Regions from separate parts of the Homo sapiens genome. Here region 2 is linked to region 1. The links are contacts of gene promoters, found by promoter capture Hi-C in human tissues and cell types (Jung and others, 2019). All regions are on one chromosome and are shown on one strand. Each heading gives the region's core, a stretch centred on a gene start or on the middle of the fragment in contact. The rest is flanking DNA. Distances are from core to core; before and after follow the strand shown.

Evidence for each region. Contacts are between HindIII fragments. The study calls those that stand out against the background at their distance.
Region 2: a contact is called between a fragment that was not itself captured here and the fragment with the promoter of AHRR in region 1, in 2 of the 25 tissues and cell types used here (dorsolateral prefrontal cortex and lymphoblastoid cells).

Annotation. Positions count from the first base shown.
Region 1 is chr5:316,813-322,963 of GRCh38, forward strand. AHRR (aryl hydrocarbon receptor repressor) reads left to right here and starts at 4,902. Exons shown (of 11, transcript NM_001377236.1): 1 at 4,902-5,007. The region is part of intron 3 of PDCD6-AHRR (PDCD6-AHRR readthrough (NMD candidate)); the gene reads left to right. RefSeq lists enhancers at 1,705-2,004, 5,138-5,705, 5,794-5,913 and silencers at 4,114-4,373, 4,524-5,013, 5,104-5,483, 5,494-5,553. The HindIII fragment of the contact is 29,634 bases long and covers 1-6,151 here.
Region 2 is chr5:1,527,495-1,533,472 of GRCh38, forward strand. No RefSeq gene overlaps it. Among named protein-coding and RNA genes, the nearest start is that of LPCAT1, 6.5 kb to the left of the region's middle. The HindIII fragment of the contact is 3,416 bases long and covers 23-3,438 here.

The DNA.
Region 1 (6,151 bases), core at 3,652-6,151:
ACACGCTTGGAGGACCAGCAGGGGTAGAGCGCTGGACAAACGCATGTCAGGCCGGCCTGCTGGCAAAGGAACCCCTGGATGCAGAGAGCCTGTTGGGCTGGTGGGCTGTGGCTGTTGGGAGGGACATTTCCCCGGGGAGCTCCCAGCCATCAGAAGTCAAGGGAGGGAGGCGGTGAGGAGCCTCTCGAAGCAGAAGGTGTGGAGGGGGGACTCCCCTGCTCTCCTGGCCGGAGTCACTGATACAAAACTGGGGGTCCCTGGAGGGCAGTGAGCTCACGAGTTGTGGTGGATTCCTTGTGGAGGGGGTGCCAACCCGCAGGGAAGCAGGGCTGCCGTGCCCCCTGCCCAGCCACACTGCCAGCACAGACCCCATCCTCAGGCGCCTGCAGGGAGGCCACCCACGCCTTCCTGGGTGAGGGAAGCCCCTGAGCTAAACCTCACTGCACTCTGAGGCCCCAAGGGCCAGGCAGCTGCACACAGCCTGGGCCACGTGGGGGCAGTGCGGCTGCACCACGGAGCTCTCGGGAGCTGCTGACTGACCGGGAGGACCTGCCCGACACAGCCATGGGATTTATAGCCGCAGAGAGAAGACTACAGAGAGACGGGCCTTCGCCCTTTCAGCTCTCCCTTGTCAGGCAGGCTGTGCCCTGTGACCCTTCAGAGCCTGGGTTTGGGGGTGGAGGGGGTGGACAGCTGACCAGGTGCCTGGCGCAGGCCCAGTGTGGTGAGGCTGGGTCGCGGAGGCCAGGCCAGGCCAGCGGCCACGACCACCCACCAGGGACCCTCAGCGTCACGACCCCGGTCCCAAGACCCAAGACAGCAGGACATGGGGGCACAGCCATCTCTGGGGGCCTCTCCTTCCCCCCGCTCTGGGTCCTCAGTCATCAGTGCAGACATGGAGGTGCAGGTGCACGCCGTACACCCTCACCTGGGGCCCCTGGCCCATGCCTCCCCACCCTCCCTACCCTGATCTCCCCCCACAACCCTACACCTCCCCGGACAACCCTGCACCTCCCCCAACAGCCACCCTGCACCTCCCCGCCACAACCCTGCACCTCCCCCAACAACCCTTCAACTCCCCTCTCACCTTGCACCTGCCCCTCACCCTGCACCTCCCCCCATCCTGTACCTCCCCCCTTCACCCTCCACCTACTCCCAACCCTGCATCTCCCCCCAACCCTGCACCTCCCCACATCCTTCACCTCCCTCCTCACCTGGCACCTCCCCCCATCCTTTCCCTCCCCCAATCCTTCACCTCCCCCCTCCCTTCATCTCCCCCCTCACCCTCCACCTCCCCCCCGCACCCTGCACCTCCCACCCTTACCCTGCACCTCTCCCCATCTTTTACCTCCCTCCCACCCTGCATCTCCCCCCAACCCTGCACCTCCCCCCATCCTTTATTTCCCCCCACCCTGCATCTCCCCCCAACCCTGCACCTCCCCCCATCCTTTACCTCCCCCCACCCTGCATCTCCCCCCAACCCTGCACCTCCCCCAATCCTTCACCTCCCCCCTCACCCTCCACCTCCCCCCCTCACCCTGCGGCAAGCAGAGAGCTGACTCCAGCACAGTGAACTTGGAATGATGGAATGCACCCTGGAAGCAGCTCTGACGGGCGCCACCGTGACTGTGCCCAGCAGGGAGCTCCCTTGTGGTTTTTAACAAAAGACAAAATTCCCCAGGTCCTTCTCTGTGCTACAGGAGAAACTGGTGTGGGAGAGGGAACCCAGGCGTGACCAGGGAGAAACTGGTGTGGGAGAGAGAGGGAACCCAGGCGTGACCAGGGCTGCCCAAGCGGCTCCCTGTGAGGCATCAACGCTGGAGACACAGCAGTCATGGGGAACCCGGGGAACCCGGGAAACCCAGCCGCCATCAGAGAGCCAGAGAGCCGCAGGCGCCTGTGCGGGGTCCTGGCCTGGCCCGAGGGGTCAGCACACCCCTGTCTGCCTCTGAGGTCAGGGCCCTGGGGGCTCCTGACCTGGCCTGCCTGTGGGAGGCAAAGGTGTGGCCAGGAGAGGACAGGAGGGGGCAGTCACAGTCACCACTCCTGGAGGCCCATGAAGAGCAGCTTTGCCCCCACACTTCTGTGAAGCCAACTTGGGCCTGTTTGGGAGGGGCCTGGCGCTGCAGCCGGCCGTGGGCACCTGCCATGTGGCGGTCCACTGGAGGCCAAGTCCAGCTCATATGGCTCTGGGGACCCACCGCACCAGACTCCAGTGTGGGGGTACCCGGAGCTGGGGGTGGGTCCTCGGAGGCTTCCAGTCCTGCCCCAGCTGCCATCCCTGCCAGGTGTTAGCGCCTCTGGTTCAGAGTCCCGAGAGGACCAGTGGCCCAGGAGAAAGGGGTGTGTCTCCAGCTGCTGGGAGTGTGGGTGGGAGCCAGAGGGTTCAATGACACTGGGGACAGCAAGTCCGGACTGGAGGGAGGAGACCTCCTGAACAGGGTCCCCAGCACAGAGGCAGAAAGGAGACTCTGTGACTGGGGGTGTCAGCTGCATCTGGACCTTCGTGGTGGGGAGGGAGGCACGCCCAATAGCCCGTCTGAACGGGAGGTGGCTCAGGGATCCCCCATTGTGCTGGTGGGGTGCCCAGAGACTCCAGGACTCCACGTGGGGCTCTGCCTGCTAAACCCTGAGACTTTAGGGGCAGTGGCTCCCACGGCAGGGTCATCCTTTTTCTGCACAGTCCCACTGGCTGCCCCAGGTCCTGCAGAGACCTGAGACTTTGGGGACAAGCACAGGGGACAGGTGGGCGTGGATGGCCTGTGCCGGTCAAGGGCAGTGGGAAGGAAGGAGGAGCAGTTTCCTTCTGTACCCAGGAAATAGAGTAACAAAGTGTCTCATTCCAGTTGGTTCTGGTGGGACAGGGTAGGTGGAAGGGAACCCGTGCTTGCCCTGAGACATGGGGGTGCTGTCTTCCCATGCAGGGGGACTGCGGCTCACCACCATCACATTCTACCCACAGGTTCTTATTTTAACAGATCACAAAGGTACTATGTGCTTCTTGCAAAAATTTACAGGAATTGTAGACTTTTCAAAAAGTAAAAAGAAATTAAAGTTCACCTGTTACCTCAGAGTTATCCAGCTACACATTTTCTGTGCATAATTCACTTTACAAAAATTGGATCAAGATAAAACTAATGATTTTTAAAAATACAGCAATATAGTTGCACATTGTTCCATATCAAAAAATAAATGTGTGCACCCAGGGCTCCTGGCTGTCTCAGTGGCATAGTGGCTCATGCCTGTAATCCCAACACTTTGGCAAGCCGAGGTGGGTGGATCACCTGAGGTCAGGAGTTCGAGACCAGCCTGGCCAAGATGGCAAAACCACTATCTACTTAAAAAAAAAAAAAAATTAGCCAGGTGTGGTGGCGCGCGACTGTAATCCCAGCTACTTGGGAGGCTGAGGCACGAGAATCGCTTGAGCCCTGGAGGCAGAGGCTGCAGTGAACTGAGATCGCACCACTGCTCTCAGGCCTGGGTGACAAAGCAAGACTCTGTCCCAAAAAAGCCCATTTACTCAGCTCACATTTTTGAGCCTCTGCTATTCGACAGGAACCAGAGGTGAGCAGAGCCGACTTGGTGACCCCTGGGGACAGAGCGGCAGAACTCAGCAATTCTGGGCTGCCCTGCAGGAGCTACACCCGGGGAGGGGCGGTGGCCACTTGGGGGCAGGGTGGGCTTCTCAGCTGCGCCCACCCCACCTTGGGAGCTGTGTCTGGAAAAGAGACTTTTCCTGAGCCGACAGCAGACAGCGAGTGCAAAGGCCCCAAGGCCCGCACGCCTTATTCAGAGAACAGCAGGAGGCGCGGGGCGGGTTGGGGGCGTCAGGGAGACGGGGTTTGACTGAGAACCTGGGGGCGCCAGTGACAGCCTCGGCCGCGTTGCTGAAAACCGACCTTGCGGGATGAAGAGGGCGCGGTTCCCCCGGCTGGGATGAGGACCGCGGATGCTGAGGAGCGGACTCCAGGGACCACCGACTCCATGGCCGGCCCCAGCGAGGGCGAGAACGGGTGGAAGCCGGCCAGGGTCTGTGGAGACGTCAGGGTGCGAGGCCAGGCTGAGGTGTCCCCAGGGATCCCCTGAGGGTACAGGGAATTCAGCCAGGGCCTGCGCGCCCGGACGGAGGACTAGAGGGGGCCAAGGACCACCGGGAGGGGGAAGGAGAAGGCGCAGCCCGAGGTCGGAGGGGCCGGCGGGCGCGCAGAGGGCGCGGGGTGAGCCCTAAGGACCTGCAGGCAGGACCCTGCTCTCGGCCGCGCGGTCCCGGGTGCCGACCGGCGGGGTGGGCGGGGCAGGGGCACCCAGGGCCGCACACCTGCCGCGTGGGACCCTGAAATGCCCAGGACGAAGAACGTCGCACGGACGACCCTGCCGTGCCTGGCGCGCGTCCGCTTCCTGGGAAGCTCAGGATCCAAAAGCATCTTAATATTCTCTATAATTCGCCAAAAACCATGACTCCTTTTACATTTTCGAAACGACCTCATGGGGCAGGCGAGGGGGCACACGCTCTCCTCACTTTACCTGTTCGGGTCTACACCGCCCGGCTCTAGGGCCGGCAGCTCAGCACAGCCGGCCGCGAGCGCTGGGGAGGGGACGGGGGCGCAGGGAGAACCGGGGGACCCTGGGCGCACACAGACCCCAGGGGGAACGCAGGGCCTGGAGGGGCTCAGCGCGCGACCCCCGCCTCGGGGCACGGAGACTCCGGGGGATCACTGGGACGCGAAGGGCGCAGGGCGGACCCCAGGGGAACCGGATGGCGTCTCCGGTTCGCCAGGGCAGCTGGGGCAGCCGGACCCGAGACAGCCGGACCCGCGGGCGCCCTCTGCCGCCTCCCGGCCCTGGATGCTGCGGGGCGGGGCGGGCGGCTCGCGTGCCGGGGTGGGGCAGTCCCTGGAGCCGCCGCGGGTTCCCGGGATGCGAGCGCCGGCACCCGCCGCCACAGCTCCTGGCCAGGGCGCGCTGCCCCGCGGGTGTGCCTGAGCCTCCGCGCCCCGCAGGCCCTGGGTAAGTGTCCTGGGCGCCCCCGCAGGCCCCCGCCGCGTGCCGCCCGCGGTGGAGACGGGATGCGCTCCCGGGTGTGGGGCTGAGGGACGGGCGCCGGCGTCGGGACCCTCCTCACGCCGCATCCTCGCGTCGCCAGGCCCGGCGGCCCCGGGACGGGGCGGACACTCTGGGGTGCGGCTGGCTGGTCTCACTTAAAACTCGGACCTCGGAGGGAAGCCGCGGCGCGTCCACGGTTCGTGGTCCTCAGCGTCCCCTCGAGAGTGTTCTGAGCCTTCACTCCCCGGGCGTTCCGTGCGGGCCGCGCTCCCTGGGGCTGGGCGGGTGCGGGCGGCGGAGCGGGGCCCCGCTGTCGGGCCGAGGGCGCCAGGTCCGGGGGGCCTCACCCCCGGGAAAGGCCCATGTTCAGGCTTGGTTTCAGTAGCACCCAGTAGCGCTGAAGTCTTATTTTGAGCGGCCAGAATTCCCAGACCGGATGCCCTGAGAGAGCGATGTGGCGCCTGGAGTCCACGCTGGGACCCCTTCTGGGGAGGGGTCGCCATGGGCGCGTGACAGGCAGGGGCCACCCTCTGACCTCTTCTGCGAGGCCGGAGGTCAGAGACCTTGTGCAGAAGCGTCCCACGGGCCTGTCCCACGGGCCTGTCCGGCTGTGGCCTCCGGGATGGCAAGGGCAGGCGGGGAGGGGCTTCCTCCCTGGGCCTCCTGTGCGCGCGCACAGGCTCTCGTCTGCGGGGTTCTTGCAGAAGGGTGGGCGTGTGCGCGCGTTCTCCAAACGCCACCCCCACGGGGCCTCACAGCCGCCCCGGCCTGGCAACCGTCACCCATTTTACGAACGAGGACATCAAGGTAGGTCGCTCATCCAGCCTCTCAGAGCAAGTGACTGGCGGCGTTTGGACTCGGGCCGAGTGTGCCATACCCATCCCGCACAAAGCCGGGGCTCGATGCGGCCCCAGAGTCGCTGAAAAGCCACGAGTAACAAGAACTGGAGAACGTAGGATGCTGACCCGGCGGACGCCGCCGCCTGGGGAGCCGCTTCGACGGGGGGGACGCCACCGCCTGGGGAACGGCTTTTATTTTCGTTTTCTTACTTATCTGTATTCTCTAAAATGAACAGACACGAGTTTTACCACGGGAGAAAGGTTCTTAG
Region 2 (5,978 bases), core at 481-2,980, 1.2 Mb after region 1:
TATTCTCCTTCATTTTCTACTAACATCTTTTTTCAGTTCTGCCTTTCATGGTTGCATTTTATTCTATTTGAAGATTTTTTTCTCTGCATGGAGACCTGATATTCTCAACACCACGTATCAATCACAGACTCCCACTTGTGGGTCCACTTCCAGCATGAACAGAAAGAAGGGTTCCTGAAGCTCCTTCTGGCTGCCCCATCTCACCCATTGGTCCGTGTACTCCTTTACTCCCGTCTCACCCGCCGGTCCGCGTACTCCTTTACTCCTGTCTCACACCTTTCAACCGTCTGCCTTAGTAACTGTAGAGGGGGTTCCTTCCTGTTGGCGCTTCTTCCCAAGAATTGTAGTAGGAATTCAGGGAATTTTATTTTTCCATCCAAATTTTGGAAGCAGTTGTCCCCATTGCTAAAAATTCCCGCTGGAAGCTTCCTTTTGAATCACATTAATTGTACAGGGTACTTCAGTAAGAATGTTACTTCATTCTTACTGTTCATTCTCCCTGTTCCCTAAGAATGTTACTTCAGTAAGAGCTGGCTGGTCCTGGGAGGGGCCCTCGAAGGGCCAGCAAGGCTCCAAGGCTCCAAGGCTTCAAAGCACTAGAAAATACAAAAAAAAAATTTTTTAAATGGATGATGTGGCATGGACACTTTATAATTTTGAGAACGATTTTTCACCAACATGGTTATTCTACCATTTATTTAGATGTTCTTTCATGCCCTTTGATAGCATTTTAAATTTTTCTACATAAAGATTCTGTATTTTTGTTAATTCCTTGATGCTTCATACTTCTGCAGTGATGTAATAATCGTTTCAAAAATTACTCTTGGGCCGGGCGCGGTGGCTCATGCCTGTAATCTCAGCACTTTGGGACGCCGAGGTGGGCGGATCATCTGAGGTCAGGAGTTCGAGACCAGCCTGGCCAACATGGCAAAACCCCATCTCTACTAAAAATATGACAATTAGCCAGGTGTGGTGGCACACGCCTGTAGTCCCAGCTACCCGGGAGGCTGAGGCAGGAGGATTGCTTGAACCTGGGAGACAGAGGTTGCAGTGAGCCAAGATCACGCCACTGTACTCCAGCCTGGGCAAGAACAGAGCGAGACTCTCTTTCAAAAAAAAAAATTACTCTTGACAGTATGGATTATATGGAGAACCACTACTGCTTGTGTAGAGGTTGTATGAAGACAGACCCCAGGGTACAAGAGGACCTGTGGATGTTCCAGATGAGGAGTGCACAGCCCCAGAGTGAGGGACTCCATCATGTACAATGGATGGACTTCCTATTCAACCCACAATCATGACAAACAGAAAATTGTGGTGGTTTTCAGTCACTACAGACTGAGATGGTTTGTTAAGCAGTGATAGTGTCTTTCAAAGAGCAGATATTTTAAATTTTGATGAAGTCCAATTTATCAGCGTTTTCTTTTAGGGATCATGGTTTTGGTATCCTCTTTTATAAATATTTACCTGCATCAAGGTCATTCAGATTTTCTTACTTCAGAAGTTTTACAGTTTTGGCTTTACCATTTAGGTCTGTATTCCATTTCAAGTTGACATTTGTACACGGCATAAAGTAAAGTGGAGGCAGAGGTTTTTTAGTTTCAAATGTTTTCGTCTGAATATTCAACTGTTTCGGCACCATTTGTTGAAGAGAATATTCTTTCTCCATTGAACTACCTTGACAACTTTGTAAAAAAATTAAGTGGCCATATATGTATAGTTGAGTCTATTCCTGGACTCTGTATTTTGTTCCATGGATCTGTACATCTGCAACTGCCAACATCACACTATACTGATTACTAAAGCTTTATATTAGTCTTGAAATTAGACTGCACTGCACTGGAGTGCAGTGGCCCGATCTCGGCTCACTGCAGACTCCGCCTCCTGAGTTCAAGCGATTCTCCTGTCTCAGCCTTCGGAGTAGCTGGGACTACAGGCATGCACCAGCACGCCCAGCTAATTTTTATATTTTTTAGTAGAGACGGGGTTTCACCATGTTGGCCAGGCTGGTCTCGAACTCCTGACCTCAGGTAATCTGCCCGCCTTGGCCTCCCAAAGTGCTGGGATGACAGGTGTGAGCCACCATGCCCAGCCAAAATTTTAGAATCATTTTGTCAAGAAACTGAAGTATCCAGGAACAAACAAACAAAAGGTTGGTGGGATTTTTAATGAGATTGTGTTGAATCTATTGATCAATTTGGGAAAATTGCCATCTTAGCAATATTGAGTTATCCATCCATGAGCATGGTATACAGATCATTTATTTAGGTTTTCTTTAATTTCCCTCAGCAATGTTTTATAATTTTCACTGCATAGGTCTTACATAGGTTTTCGAATTCTGTTCCTATTTCATGTTTTGATGCTGTTATAAATGATACTGCTTCTTAATTTCAATTTCCAGAAGTGTGTTGCTCGTATATAGAACTACAACTGATTTTATGTATTTACTTTGTAGGCATTAACCTTGCTAAATTCATTTATTAGTTCTAGTGACTTTTTTTGTAGATTCTTTAGGATTTTCCCCATTTCACAATCATAATACCTGTAAATAAGGAGCTTTATTTCTTCCTTCACCAGCAACACGTATGCCTTTCGTTGTTTGCATTTCCTCTTGTTCCACTGACTGTGACATCCTCTACAGAATGTTGGACAGAGTGCTGAGACTGGGCATCTTGTCTTGTTAACAATCTTGGGGATTGTTAGTACCCAGTGCCCAGTCTTGACATGAGCTGTGGGTTTTCACAGATGCCCTGAAAAAGGATGAGGGTGTTCCCTTCTATTGCTAGTTTACTGAGTAGTTTTTATCATTTTGGCCAAAAAGCTTGCTCGCGTCTATTGAGATTATCTTAAAATTTTCTTCTTAATCCTGTGAATATGGTGAATTGAATTGGTTCATATTCTGATTTTAAACCAACCTTGTTTTTCTGGATAGGCCTCACTTAACCATACTACACGATTGATTTATTACCGAATTTAAATTGATAAATTTATGTTAAAGATGTTTGTGTCTATGTTCATAAGAAATATTGGCCGTAGTTTCCCTTTCTTATAATGTCTTTGCCTGATTTCTAATGAGGATAATACTGTCTTTAAAACATGAGTTAGGAAGTATTCCAAATTCTCTATTTCTAAGTAAAGAGTGAGTAGGGTTGGTATTATATCTTCCTTAAATGTTTGTTAGAGTTCATCAGGGAAGCTATCTGGAATGAGAATTTTCTTTTTCAGAAAGATTTAAAGATTATGAATTTGAGTGCTTCATTAGATAGGTGTTATTCATCTTTTCTATTTCTTCCATCTAAAAACCTAAATTTTTTTAGTAATTTAGATATTTCCAGGAATTTGTCCGTTTTATCTAAGTTATTGATTTATTGGCATAAAATTGTTTATCATAATCCCTTTTATCCTTTTAATATCTATAGGATCTAGACTGATAGCCCTTGTTCACGTTTATAATATTGGTAATTTGTGTCTTCTTCCTTTTTCTTGATCACTTTGGCTAGAGGTGTATTTTGTTATTGATCTTTAGAAATAGCTGCCTTTTGAATTCATTGATTTTTTCCTATTATTTTTCTGTTTTCTATTTTTGTTGATTTCTGTCTTTATCATTTTCTTTTCTCTCCTTATTTTAGGTTTAATTTGCTCTTCTGTTCCTACTTCCCTAAGTAGGAAGTATAGACCATTGATTTTAGACCTGCCTCATGTAATACCACAAATTTCCTTCTAAGTTCTGCCATATCTACATTCCACAAATGGTGGCATGCTGATTTTTCATTTTCTTTCAGTTTTCAATGTACTTTCTCTTTTCCCATGTGGTTTCTTCTTTGATTACTGTGGCTTTTTTGTTATGTGTTAACTTCCAAATATTTGGAGAATTTCCAGTTAATTTTTATTATAACTTATTTGTGGTCACAATACATACTCTGTATGATTTCAATCCTTTTATAGTCTGTGTTTATGACTGTTCAGGTGTATATTATAAGAAAAGGTTCTCTTGTTTTTGTGTGGAGTGTTCTATGAATGCCAGTTGACTCCATTGGTTGATAGTTTTGTTCAAGCTTCCTGTATCTTTGTGCTTTTCTGTTACTGTTATATGAATGACTGAAAGACCAACTATAATTGTGGATTTGTTTATTTCACCTTTCAATACTGTTAGTCTTTGCTTCGTATATTTTGAAGCTATGTTATTAGGTACATATATATTTGAAATTATTCTGTCTTCCTGGTGAATCAACCTTTCCATCATTATGTTATGTCTCTCTTTTACTCTGGTAACATTTCTTTTTTTTTTTTTTCTTTTCTTTTTTTTTTTGGGACAGAGTCAGTCTATCGCCCAGGCTGGAGTGCAGTGGCACAATCTCGGCTTACTGCAACCTCCACCTCCTGGCTTCAAGTGATTCTCCTGCCTCAGCCTCCCGAGTAGCTGGGATTACAGGTGCGCACCACCATGCCCAGCTAATTTTTGTATTTTTAGTAGAGGTGGAGTTTCACCATGTTGGTCAGGCTGATCTTGAACTCCTGACCTTGTGATCCACCTGCCTCAGCCTCCCAAAGTGCTGGGATTACAGGTGTGAGCCACTGCGCCCAGCCTCTGGTAACATTTCTTGTTCTGAAGTCCACTTTGTCTGATATTCACATAGTCACTCCAGATTTCTTATGTTTAGTGTTTGCGTGGCATATTTTTCCATCCTTTTAATCTTTCTGTGGCTTTATATTTGAAGAAGGTTTCTTGTATACAGCATAGAGTTGGATCTTGCTTTATTATCTAATCTTAAAATCTTTGTCTTTTAATAGGCATGTTTAGATCATCCATATTTGATGTGTTAATATGGTTAGATTTAAATATACAACCTTGCTATTTGTTTTCTGTTGTCTTATCTGGTCTTTTGGTTTACTCTTTAACTGCAGTCTTCTAGATTAATTTAGTATTTTATCTCCACCATTGGCTCATCAGCTATACCTCTTTGTTTTAACTTTTTAGTATCTGCTATTAATATGTGTATTATTGGAAGACATTTTAAATAATACACTGCTTCACATATAATTGAAGACCTTTGCAGTATTACACTTCCACTTCCCTTTTCATCCTTTAAGCTAGTGCTTTCATACATTTCACTCTTATATATGCTGTAGGCCCCACAATATATAATTTTTTTGTCTTGAACAAAGTCTTTTCAAGCGATTTTAAAAAAATTAAGAGGTTTTTGTATTTATCTGTATGTTTGCCATTTCAAGCACTTTCATTGCTCTCTTGAGATTTGAGTTTCCTTCTTGTATCACTTTTCTGCCTTCTGAAGAAATTTTACTAATTTTTTTGCAGTGCAGAGCTGTTTGCAACTAATCTTTTGGATTTGATCTGTATAAAAAACTTTTTTATTTTACCTTCGTTTTGTAGGATTTTTCCCCTGATAAATATAGAATTCTAACTCAACAAGTTTTTATTTTGTTTGTATATTTATTTGCTTTTGAAATTTTGTCTTTATTACTGTTTTCCTGCAAATCAGTTATGATGTACCTGTGTGTGAGAAATCACTGAGCTTCTTTGATTTATGGGTTTATACTTTTAATAAAATTTAGAAAACTAATAGTCATTATTTCCTTTTTATCATGACTTTATTGAATTATAATTGATATATAATAAACCACATAAATTTAAAGTGGACATTTTGCTGTTTTTATATATACACACATATATATGTACACACACACACACACACACACACACACACCCTATGAAATTGCCACTGTATTTAAGATAGGAAACATAGTTATTATTCCCAAAAGCTTTTTCACTCCCTTTTGTAATCCCTACATCCCACCCCTACACATTTCATCCTCAGGCAACCCCTGTTCTACTTTCTGTTGCTGTAAGTTAGTTTGCATTTTCTGAAATTTTATACAAATAAAATCATACAGTTTCTTCTTTGGTTCCAATTATTTCACTCAGCATAACTATTTGAGGTTCACCTTTTTTTTTTGTT